3 separate regions of the Homo sapiens genome follow, and all the other regions are linked to region 1. Evidence: promoter capture Hi-C in 16 types of primary human blood cells and fetal thymus (Javierre and others, 2016). All regions are on one chromosome and are shown on one strand. The core of a region is centred on a gene start or on the middle of the fragment in contact, and the rest is flanking DNA. Distances in the headings are between cores, read along the strand shown.

Evidence for each region. The method cuts DNA at HindIII sites, captures the fragments that hold promoters and counts their contacts. A CHiCAGO score of 5 or more calls a contact.
Region 2: a fragment that was not itself captured here is called in contact with the fragment with the promoter of NMNAT3 in region 1 in 4 of 17 cell types (monocytes, naive CD4 T cells, erythroblasts and 1 more); the score reaches 6.2 in monocytes.
Region 3: a fragment that was not itself captured here is called in contact with the fragment with the promoter of NMNAT3 in region 1 in 1 of 17 cell types (naive CD4 T cells); the score reaches 6.6 in naive CD4 T cells.

The regions. Positions count from the first base shown.
Region 1 is chr3:139,676,275-139,679,658 of GRCh38, reverse strand. NMNAT3 (nicotinamide nucleotide adenylyltransferase 3) reads left to right here and starts at 1,687. Exons shown (of 7, transcript NM_001401600.1): 1 at 1,687-1,954. RefSeq lists a silencer at 1,584-1,633. The HindIII fragment of the contact is 2,876 bases long and covers 239-3,114 here.
Region 2 is chr3:139,391,078-139,394,758 of GRCh38, reverse strand. The region is part of intron 1 of COPB2-DT (COPB2 divergent transcript); the gene reads right to left. Among named protein-coding and RNA genes, the nearest start is that of COPB2-DT, 3.1 kb to the right of the region's middle. The HindIII fragment of the contact is 933 bases long and covers 1,861-2,793 here.
Region 3 is chr3:139,339,146-139,342,871 of GRCh38, reverse strand. LOC124909439 reads left to right here and starts at 1,999. Exons shown (of 2, transcript XM_047449421.1): 1 at 1,999-2,302. The coding sequence starts at 2,174. The HindIII fragment of the contact is 1,281 bases long and covers 880-2,160 here.

The sequences.
Region 1 (3,384 bases), core at 438-2,937:
TAGGAAACCAGGCTTCCTCCTAGACCAAGCTTTAGTCTTCACTACCTCAGGCAGAGAAAGCTTCCCTTGCATGAGGAAGTCATTGCCCAGCCTCTTCTCTGCTCTCTGTGTGCAGCTTCTCCCTCCCTGGCCTAGGGCCCTGACCCAGAATGACTCTTCAGCCCACGATTTTAATCGAAGGCCTCTAATCAACCTGTGGTACTACATGCTACACAAGATTCTCAGAAATCCCTAAGCTTTCTCATGAGCCTCCCACCCTGCTGGGAAATAAGCTGACTTATCAATTAAAGAATATCCAAAGATGTTAAGCCACTTAATCCTCCCCAAAACTCAGTGCGGTAGGGGTTGTTACCTCCCATTATACGAAAGGAAAGTGAGGCTTGGGAAGTAAAGAGACTTGTCCAAGATCACCTTCTGGAGCCACATTTTACACCACAGGTAAGAGAAAAGGGATCCGAGAGGGCACGGACACTGTGTCTTCAGACTGAGTGGGGAAGTACCATTTACCTGGGTACTTATTGGGTGCAAGTTGCATGCCCCCGGTGCTAATACACAAGGGACAAATTTATGGGCCTCCTAAAACTGTGGACAGTGCACCCGTCCAGCCAACTTCATGGGTGCACCGTGAGGCTCTGGTGATGTGGACAGGCTTATAAAACACTCTCCATACTAAGATGAGGTTGTGTTCCTGTGTCTAGGAAACGCTGGAAATTAAGTGTACAGCAATCAAAAAACCTTGACATCATCCTTGATGTCTCTCTTTTTCGCACACTCCAATTCACTCCATTAGGAAACTGTATTGGCAGAATCTAGTGAATCTTGTCCTTCAAGGCCTCTCTCTGCAAGGCTCCCATGAGCCCTGGGGGCTTATGGAGAGTTCTGGGTGGGCAGAGGAAGCCAGACTGCGTTAGGGAAGCAAATTTGGGACCTAAATTTCCTAAGAAGGTTTTAGGGGATAGGGACCCCAATCTCTAAGACCCCAGGATTCTGTTAAGATTTATTTTCTCATTCCAAATAAATGTTCACTGGCAAGCCCTAATTCTGTCTTCTCTTTCTTAAGCAGCCCTCCCTTCCTTCTCCCCACACAACTGTGTATGCTTCAGGCCCCAGAAATCCTTCCCTGCTTTGAGGTCTGGCGTTTACCAGGGCAGGGCTTGAGAATAGAGGTGTAAATTTGTCAGAAGGAAACAGGGGCCGCGCAGTAAGAGAGTAGATCCTCATATAACATGGCAGAAAGTCAATGGATAAATCAAGAAATCGCTATGTAAGTTTCTTTTTTTATTTTTTTATTTTATTTATTTATTTTTTTTTTGCGACAAGCGGGTGACCACTAGAAGAAATTAACGGAGGAATTGTTAAAAAGAGCTGTGATGGGAGGGAGAAGTGGCCTGTTGCTTTCATTATAAGCAAATCTAGATAATTTTATTTTCTAATAAGTAAGTGGGCGTTACTTTCATGTATTTTTTTAAAAGAAAATTAAATAAAAATACAAAACAAACAGAATACAAAACAGGAGAATAAAAAAGCAAACACGCACGCAACACAAAAGAGCCTTGGCGGTTGGGAGCCAGCGGGCGGGGGCGGGGGCAGGGGAGAGGGCGGGGCTTAGGACCCTGGGCGGGGCCAGGGCCGGGTCTCCTTAGGGCCCGCCCCAGCGAAGGGGCGGGGCGCAGATCTGTTTCCCTCAGACTCCATCTGCCCGGGGCCGCTAAGGGAGCGCAAGGTCAAGTTCGCCTTGGCCCCGCCTCCAGCTCAGGTACTAGGGGATCTAGACCTGAGGCTGCCCGGGCCGGAGGCAGCCTTGAGTCCCGAGACCAAACGTCGTTTCCCTCTCGGACCTCGGGCGCCGGGCCGCGCGCTGACCGACAGCCCCTGCTAGGCCCAGCAGGTCCCCTAGTCCCCCGCAGTCCCCCGAGACTCGCCGAGCGCCGTTGCTGAGCCCTGCAAATAGCAGGTAAGCGCAGCGTGGGCCCCTCGTCAGCCCACTAGGACCTGGATCGCGGCTGAATGCCCGGGCCCACGTGACTCCTGGCCCCTAACTGAGTCCTGGGAGTCCCCGCTGGGGCGACAGGTGGCGGCGGAGTGCGGAGCCATCCGGGGTGGCGCGAACCGGGGGGACAGCTCCGCGCTGCCTCTGCGCGCCGGCGGTTCTCGCTGCAGCGTGTCAACCTAACCCCCAGCTCCCCTTTGGCTATGACCAGAGTCCCGGAGACGTGGGTTCGGATCCCACCTTTAGCACTCGTGCACTCAAAGGTTAAAAATATAAGCACAGTGTCTAACAAATACTTAACGTGTTCCACTCAGTGTCCGCTGCTGGGCTAAGTGCTGGGGTTACAGTAGCAGGCCAAAAAATGTGGTGCCCTCCCCCGTGCAGCTCACAGTCCAGTGGGGGGAGACCGACAGCAAATGGATATCTATGCAAACAAGTGTGAACGTTAAAACTGTGGTCAGAGCTATGAAGATTGAAATTCTAGGGTGCTGGAGAGATTTTATCAGGGCCCCCAGCTACAAAGGCTGCTGGAACTAAAACTTTAGAGAATTCCCGGGCGGGGAACAACAGAGCAAACTCATTTTGTTGGGAGAGAATGTGGCTTGAGGAAAGGAGGGTTGGTGGGGCTGGCCTGCAGAGAGCTGGGGGGAAAGCAAGTTCCTTAACCTTAACGTTCTCCTCTGTAAAATGGGATTGTTCTACCCATTGAGAATGGAAATGGTGAATGTAAATGACTTAGCACTGCGTGATGGGTGCTGGATGTTACTCTGCACTAAACATCCAAGGCTTGATGTTGTTCTGGACTAAACACAGTGTGCCTGCCTCTCAGCAAAGTCACTTCCCCTCTCCTTGAGTCCTGTTTCTTCCTCTATCAAATAAGTGGTTCTGAGTAGAATCTCTCAAACAGCCTGTTCTCTAAAATGATGACTGGTTTAGTTGTTCATTCTTGAAACATTTAACTGGCGCCCACTTTACCCTGGCTCTGAGGATTCAGAGAGAAATCAGACAGGGGCCCTGCCCTCCTGGAGCCCATGTCCGGTGGGCCAGGTGAAATAAAGTGACAGTTCCACCCTGGCACAACCCAGAGAAAGGGTTCTTACCCACTGGCCTTGCAGGGGAAAGCTTCTCTGTTTTTCTCAGAAAGCCACCCAGGAGCCCCTGAAGGTATGGTTCACACAGCTCCACTGAGCATCAGTTACTTCTTGAATTTCATTGGTGGTTCTCAGCTTTTGGTGTCACCTCTTAAAACTGGACAGAAGACTTCCCAGAAGCAGCAACTATGCTGGGACCTTGCTAAGGACGTGTCAGACCTTGAGACCCCATGGATTTGGGAGAGCATTTTAGGTTTCAGGAAACATCTGTCAGCTGCTCACTGTATTTTATTGGCTCAAATG
Region 2 (3,681 bases), core at 1,078-3,577, 290 kb after region 1:
AAATCACCTCCTTTGTTTCATTCAAAGCTCACTTTAAACTTTGACTCCTCTAAAAATACTCATTAGAAAAACATAAGGTTAATGTAATTTTTAAGGTAAAATTAACACAAGTCAAACACATTACTAATAATCTGGATTTTTACACTTTCAGGTAAACAAAAGTTAGCATCCTCTGCATCTGGAATTCTACATCAAACTCCCATGGAGTAAATTTAACAAATTTAAAATGTTTAGAAGGTAGTCACATGAAGTGTACAGCACATTGTGGTTGGTCAATGCTTTTGCAATCAGTCCAACATTTGCCTCTAAGTGTTGGGCAACCACAAACTCCATTTTTCTTGGAAGACAGTTCAGTGGATCTCCAACTCAATTTAGTCTGCTGCTGGCTGCTACTTGACTATGTGGTCAAAACTTTTGCTTTCATTCACCTCATACAGAAATCAGGCTGATAATCTTAACATTTCCTCTAACAGGAAAAGTAACTGACATGTGATGATGTATCAGTAATGGAGCATGAAGATTACCCTACTTAACATTCTTAAATGGTTCCCCAGAGCCTACAGGATAAAGTCCAGACTCCTTTAACTGGCTATCATGGATCTTCAGAATCTGAATCTCATTTATCTTTCTAATACCATTTCTCAATCCTCCCCCTTCTTACTCTCTGGCCCAGGCATGCTGAACTATTCTTAGCTCTCTGGAAAAGTCAAATGCTCTAGATATACTCTCTTGACATTTACCTGGCTAGTTCCTACTCACACTACAAAGGTCCATTTAGTGGCCTGCATCCATTTGGAGCCTATCATAATTAAATCAAGCATGCCCTAAATGCAGGAACAGTCAACCCACTTACAGTGAGACACCTCTCACATCAACATTTGCCTTTCTTCACTAATCGCTTGGTAAAATAGTTTATACTGATGACCTCTACTTTTTTTATCATCCAATAATTTCTAAACCCTTTGTAAACTTGCCTTCCCTACCATTACTCAACTTTTTTGAAGGCTGATAGTGTCCTCATAATCATTTATTTCATTGGCAATAGTTTTGGCAAATACTAAGCCTCCTTAAATTCTCTAAAGCTATCAAGATGCTAGTCACCCAGTCACATTTTCCCTTTCTTTTCCTTCTGTGACATAAAGTTATTCTGGGTCTCTTATTCTGATTGTTCCTACACTGACTCCACTTCTTTTTCTTTCACTTTTTCTTCTTTCCTGATTCTCTTTCTCTGATTGTTCCTTCATTGGCTCCACTATCATTCACTGGCTCCACATCTTCCTCTGATTAAAGATATTCTTCTGGGTTCATTAGATTAAAAACATCAGCAATAGGATGCCTCCCACTCCCTCAATTCAACAAACGCATTTGTGTATCCAGTTGATTCTAGCTTCTCAGGGAAAAAAGGAGAAATTACAATCCAGTAAAAAAAGATGTTAGTATCATTAAATATAACTTAGGTTCATATCTCAGGTCTGTCAGTCATGAGCAATGTGGCATGAGGTATACTACTTAATCAATTTAAGCCTCTGTTTTTCATCTATAAATTGGAGAAAATAATGCCTATCTTTTAGTATTACTTTATGAATTGCAGTATGCAAAGTACATATTCCAATGGCAGGTAGGTACATAGTGGGCATTTAATAAAAATTTTTCCTTATTACTGTTATTTCCACACTCACTTCCACCAAACTTATATAGTCTGTTTCAACTTCTTTTAGTGTGTCATACACATCAACAAAAGACAAATCATCTAGAGTACAGATATAAACAGGTTTCCTATCTGGCCCAGTAAGTCCCAACTGCTTGACTCAAAGCTCAATTTCTCCCGATTTAAAAATCTTCAGGTTCTAGCCCCAAGCTTCCTCTTCAACCTTCTCCCTCACTGCTCTTCTAAATGAATACCATTCTCCAAACAAATTGGACCTTTTTTGGTTCTCAAACATGCCGTATACTCTTCACCTCAAAGTCCACCTCAGATTCTACCTCCTTTATGAAACTTATCTCCCTAGCTGGATATTTTATCTTCAGAGTATTTTACTGGTACTTCTCTCAGAAGGTACTCATATTCTGCCTGGTATTCAATTATTTGTGCATAAATAACCTTTCCTGCTTATAAATTGTAACCCCTTTGAAGGGAGAAACTAGGTTCCTATTCGTGCTAGTACTTACCACTTAGCTAAGTGATAACACATGTATATTTAAAAATAATAAACAAGGCTGGGTGTGGTGGCTCAAGCCTGTAATCCCAGCACTTTGGGAGGCAACGCAGGCAGATCACCTGGGGTCAGGAGTTCAAGATCAGCCTGGCCAACATGGTGAAATCCCATCTCTTCTAAAACTACAAAAATCAGCCAGGCGTGGTGGCGTGCACCCGTAGTCCCAGCTACTGGGGAGACTGAGGCAGGGGAATCGCTTGAACCCGGGAGGTGGAGGTTGCAGTGAGCTGAGATGGCGCCACTGCACTCCAGCCTGGGTGACAATGTGAGACACCATCTCAAGATAAATAAATAAATACAAATAAAATAAAATAATAAACAAAAAACCCTGACTCTTTCTCAACGAATTATTTTCCTCAACTTCTTATGAAGAGGTAGGAATAGGGTGGGAAGGGAACAGTGTATATAGGGTACTTACAGAGGCACTGCAACCTGAATTCCCACTTGGAATTCTCCCAGCTGCTGCAAAAAGGCAGGGCTGAAATAGCTATTATAGAAATTGACTAGGTAAGACTTTAAGATCTGTTAATCGATTGCAGTCAACCTCTTGGGAAACCCTTTACCAATCTGCTAAGCTTGTCTATATTTCTTTTCTTCCCAACGGTTATTTTTCCTAACCTTCCAGTCTCCTCTAAACCAAGTAAACAAAAGATTTTAATTTAAACCCACAGTCGAACGCCTAGTGAAATACACGTGTATATTTAATGTTATGTATTAGTTCCTATTTAAGAATTTTATTTCTTTAAAATTTATTTCAACCAAAATCCAACACCAAATTCTATGGGTAATATCTTAAGGCAGCACCTAGTATAGTGCTTTGTATATAGTACACATTCAGTATGTAATGGTTAAAAGAGTGAATTTACAGTCTACAATTGCAGGACTTAATTTTGGCTAATTGCAGTGGAAAACATGAGAAAAGATATAGTCCAAGTAAGAATGACACTTGAGGGTTCAGGCCCGCAACACCAGCTAGGTAGACCCTTAGGTGGCCCAGTGGTATACAAAGATTTAAGCATTCCCAGCTGAGCCCCTTGACAATAGAGATACATCATTTTATTTTGTATCACTTAGTACTGTGCCAAATCCAAAAATACTCTCTCAAGTGCAAGAGTATTCAGGAGTTAGAAATATTGAAAGTTCCACTATTCAAGCAAATTAGGTATAGTTCATATAATTTTTTCAACTCAGGATCCTCAGTCACTCCATAGAGTAAGCAAAGTATGCAATTACTAGAATTATTAGTCTCAATTTACATAAGATCACACTGCTGGCACTAAACTCCAGTTCCAGACTCTTTTTTCCACTATTGAATGCCACAGAAACATAAAAAAAAAAAAAATGGAAGGATCTTTAGAAACCATGTAGCTGGATTTTTTTTAAGATGATGAAAACTGAGGCCCATGAAGAGAGTCACATTAGCTCAAGGCTCCTACTAAAGCCAAATAATTTCGTGCAAAATCAT
Region 3 (3,726 bases), core at 271-2,770, 340 kb after region 1:
GTGCTGTTTATGAACTCATTCCCTATTTGGGAGGGGAAGGGAGAGCACTAGGCTTGGTGCCTATTTAGGCAAGTCTGCTGCCCTGCACTTCCCAATGCTTACACCTACATGATAGCAGGTGTCAGAGACTAGTGGCAGGATGAATGCAGGTGTCTCCCAGCCCATGCCTTTTCTCTGAAAATGAACCCTCTACTTTCTTCCCATAGCTGAGGGAGCAGGCCTCAGTGGCTATGTTTTTCCTGTAAACATCCTCCTGGACACAGCTGATTGGACACTTAGTGCAGGATGAATGAATCCATTGGCTGCTGTATTAGCATTAGTTTCCTGTGGCTGCTATAACAAACTACCACAAATATTATGGTTTAAAATAACAAAAATGTATTCTTTCACAATTCCGCATGAGAAATCTGAAATCAGTATTACTGAGCTGAAATCAAGGGAGCTCTGCTCCCCTTAGAGTCTATCTCTGGAGAAGAATCTGCCCCTTGTCTCTTCCAGTTTCTGATGACTGTAAACATTCCTTTGCCTGTGGCTGCATCATTTCAATCTCTGCCTCCATCTTCACATCAGCTTCTCTTCTTCTATTTGTGCCAAATCTTCCTCTGTTTTCTTCTTATAAGGATGTATGTGATTGCATAATCACTGACCCACCCTGATAATCCAAGATAATCCCCATTTTAAAATCTTTAACTTAATCACATCTGCAAAGACCATGTTTCCATATAAGGTAACATCCACAAGTTCCATGGATTAGAGTGCAGTTATACTTGGGAGGAAGTATGGGGGCATTCTTCAGCCTACCCCAGATGACCAGGCACCAAGCAGATTTTTTCTCAATAATTCAAACTATGAGACATAGAATAGTCGACGGTGGAAGCTTGAAGTGAATAACTAAGTATTTAGGGTTTGGGCTGAAGCAGCCTTTTTCAGCAATGTGCTCACTGATGAGTGAGCAGGGAAAAGCCACTCTGCAGAGAGAGGCAGGAAAATGGAGCAGATCCTCAGAAGCAGAGATGGGAGAATATGTACGGAGAGAGATGGAGAAAGGTGGTGTCTTGGCCAGAGAGCTTCCCACTTTCCTTTCAATGACCTCTTTTACTTGGGGTACAGTGAGTTTTACTGATATGGAGTAATGAAGATTCCTGGTTTAAGCTATAACCTCAGGCAGATGCCCACATCTTTCAGAGCCCCAGTACCTCACCTGCAAAATGGGCATAATGACAATACTTATCTTGCAAACTTTGAGAATAAAGTACTTTCAGGATCTGATGTCTGGTGTTTCATAAAGATGGTGTGAGAAGGTTGTGTGGTGGCAAGTCAATTACTTTCTTTTTTTCTTTTCCGTTTTTTTTTTTCTTTTGAGACAGGGTCTTTCTTACTTTGTCACCATGGCTGGAGTGCAGTAGCATGATCTCAGCTCACTGCAACCTCTGCCTCCTGGGCTCAAGCAATCCTCCCACCTTAGCCTCCCAAGTAGCTAGGACTACAGGTGCACACCACCATGCCCAGCTAATTTTTGTGTTGTCCAGGCTGGTCTTGAACTCCTGGGCTCAAGTGATCTGCCCGCCTCAGCCTACCAAAGTGCTGGAATTGCAGGCATGAGCCATGGCACCCAAGTCAGTTACTTTCTGAGGATGGTATTCAGAAGTACTCTGGTTGCAAGAAACAAATCTTTCCTGAGTAAAACTGAAATGGGAGTAATTGGAAGGATACTGAATATCTCACAGAATTCAAGAAAAAGCTCAACAGCCAAGCCTCAGGAAGGACTTGAAAGATGGCAGCTCCAAGAACCCCAGAGGCAGGAACTCAAGAGATCTCTCCAGGAGGTTGCAGTCCTAATGGCTTGGTTCCAACTCCCTGCCTTCCATCCAATCTAAGTTCCTGGTGAGAGAGGCTGATTGGCCTGGGTGGGGTTCTGTTCACCACTGGGGGTTGGGGAGGGTTGGCCCTCTGACTGACAGTCCCAAGGCTATCTGGCTGCAGCTACTGTTAGGATTCATTAGGTCATATCTTCACCAGCTCTGTGGAGCAAGCATGGTTTTCTATTATTTGTAAAACAAAAGTATAGTGATGCCTCAGTGGGGAGTGCCTTATCCCACTCTCAGTGATTTAACAGGGTCTGGACTTCTGTTTTTTAAAAGATATATTTTATCCTAAGCTTTTAGAAGTCAAGATGGGGTTAGGGGATAAAAGTCAGGGAGAGGAATGGAGAGAGGAAGAACAGAGCCCAAGGAAGAAAGGTGACAGTCTGGACAACGCAAGAACCCCTGCGGTCTCCAGCAACCACACTCATGTGACTTCTGTAAGTCTTCAATTCCCTATCCTTGAGGCCTCCCAAAAGGTCCACATCCACCCCACTTTTGACTTCACCCAGAGTTTTTATTCTTCTGGCCCCTATTCAAAGTCCAAACCTCTTACATGTTCCTACAGAGACACAAATTCCATGGCCGAAATTCCCCTTTGTGTGCTGAGAAGGGACTGGTAGCAAGGAAAAAACCAAAGATCCAGTAACGAGAAGGGACAAGTGATGTTGTGGATCCCTGAGGAAGCTTCAGGGGATGAAGATTCTAAGTGGAGGCATTGGTAGTAGATGCAAAGGAGCCTTTGCACCAGTAGGCCAGGAGTTAAGGATGGTTAGAGTGGATACGTTTTGGGGAGAGAATCAGAGAGCCTTCCTGCCTCTCTGTCCCTTTTTCTGAGCACTGGAAAGCAAAATCATTGGTCGAGAAGAGGTACGGTTGTGTTGGGAGCTATAGGAATGAGCAGTTTGAAGTATCTGCTGGGGCTGGGCACATGGCTGGGATGCAACCTGCTGAGCAGTGGGACAGTCAGTAGCAGTGCAGAAGAGGAGATAATTCCAGAGAAAGAGGGGAAACATCAGAAGACATTCCTGGAAGCCTGTGTGAGGGTTTGCCTGAGCAAAAAAACCTTGAACAATGGTAGGAATGGTTGAAGATGTGATGGCCCAAGCCCCTTCCCTCTCACTCAGAGTGCACTGTCTTCTCATCAGCCCTGTTAGTCTTCATGGCAAATTAGTGAGGCAGACAGGGCAGGCACTGATATTCCCATCTTTTATATGCATAAACTGAGGCTCTGAAGTTATGGGTCTTGCGCATGACCACCCAATTTATTCCATGCAGTGACAAGGCTGAACTCTGAGGTACCTGGCAGCTCTTATGGTGGAAAAGCTCTGTTCTACATGTGTTCTATGGGGTGAAGAAAAACATTGACACTTCCAGAAATTACATAGACTGACTTCTGAGCCAGAATATGGCCCAAAAGAGAGAAGGAGGGAGACTGTCCTCCACCACAAGCCAGTGGGGGCGGATGAGTCAGTTCCTCTAACCCTGGAGTTATCAGTTTATCTCCAATTTTCCACGTGACACTCTGTCCTTTTTCTTCTGATAGCATCCACTGAACTACAATTCTACACCAAACTGAACACTTGAAACAGAAAATGATTGCCAGGGGCCAAGGCTACATCAGTCTGTGATGACAGACAGACCCTCTGTCCTATAGCACAGGGACATAAATGTCAAAGGCACTAAGGCTGGCTGCTACTTGCCACCCCAGCTGCCCCCAAAGGGACTTGGGCCCAGAGCAGTGGCCCCATGACACAGCGATCATGGATATGTTTTGTAATAAATGGCACTTGGCTCCCCTGCTCCCAAGATCTGGCTGCTGTCAGGTTTGGTGTGGAACATTTTGTCTAAAGGACATGCTGGC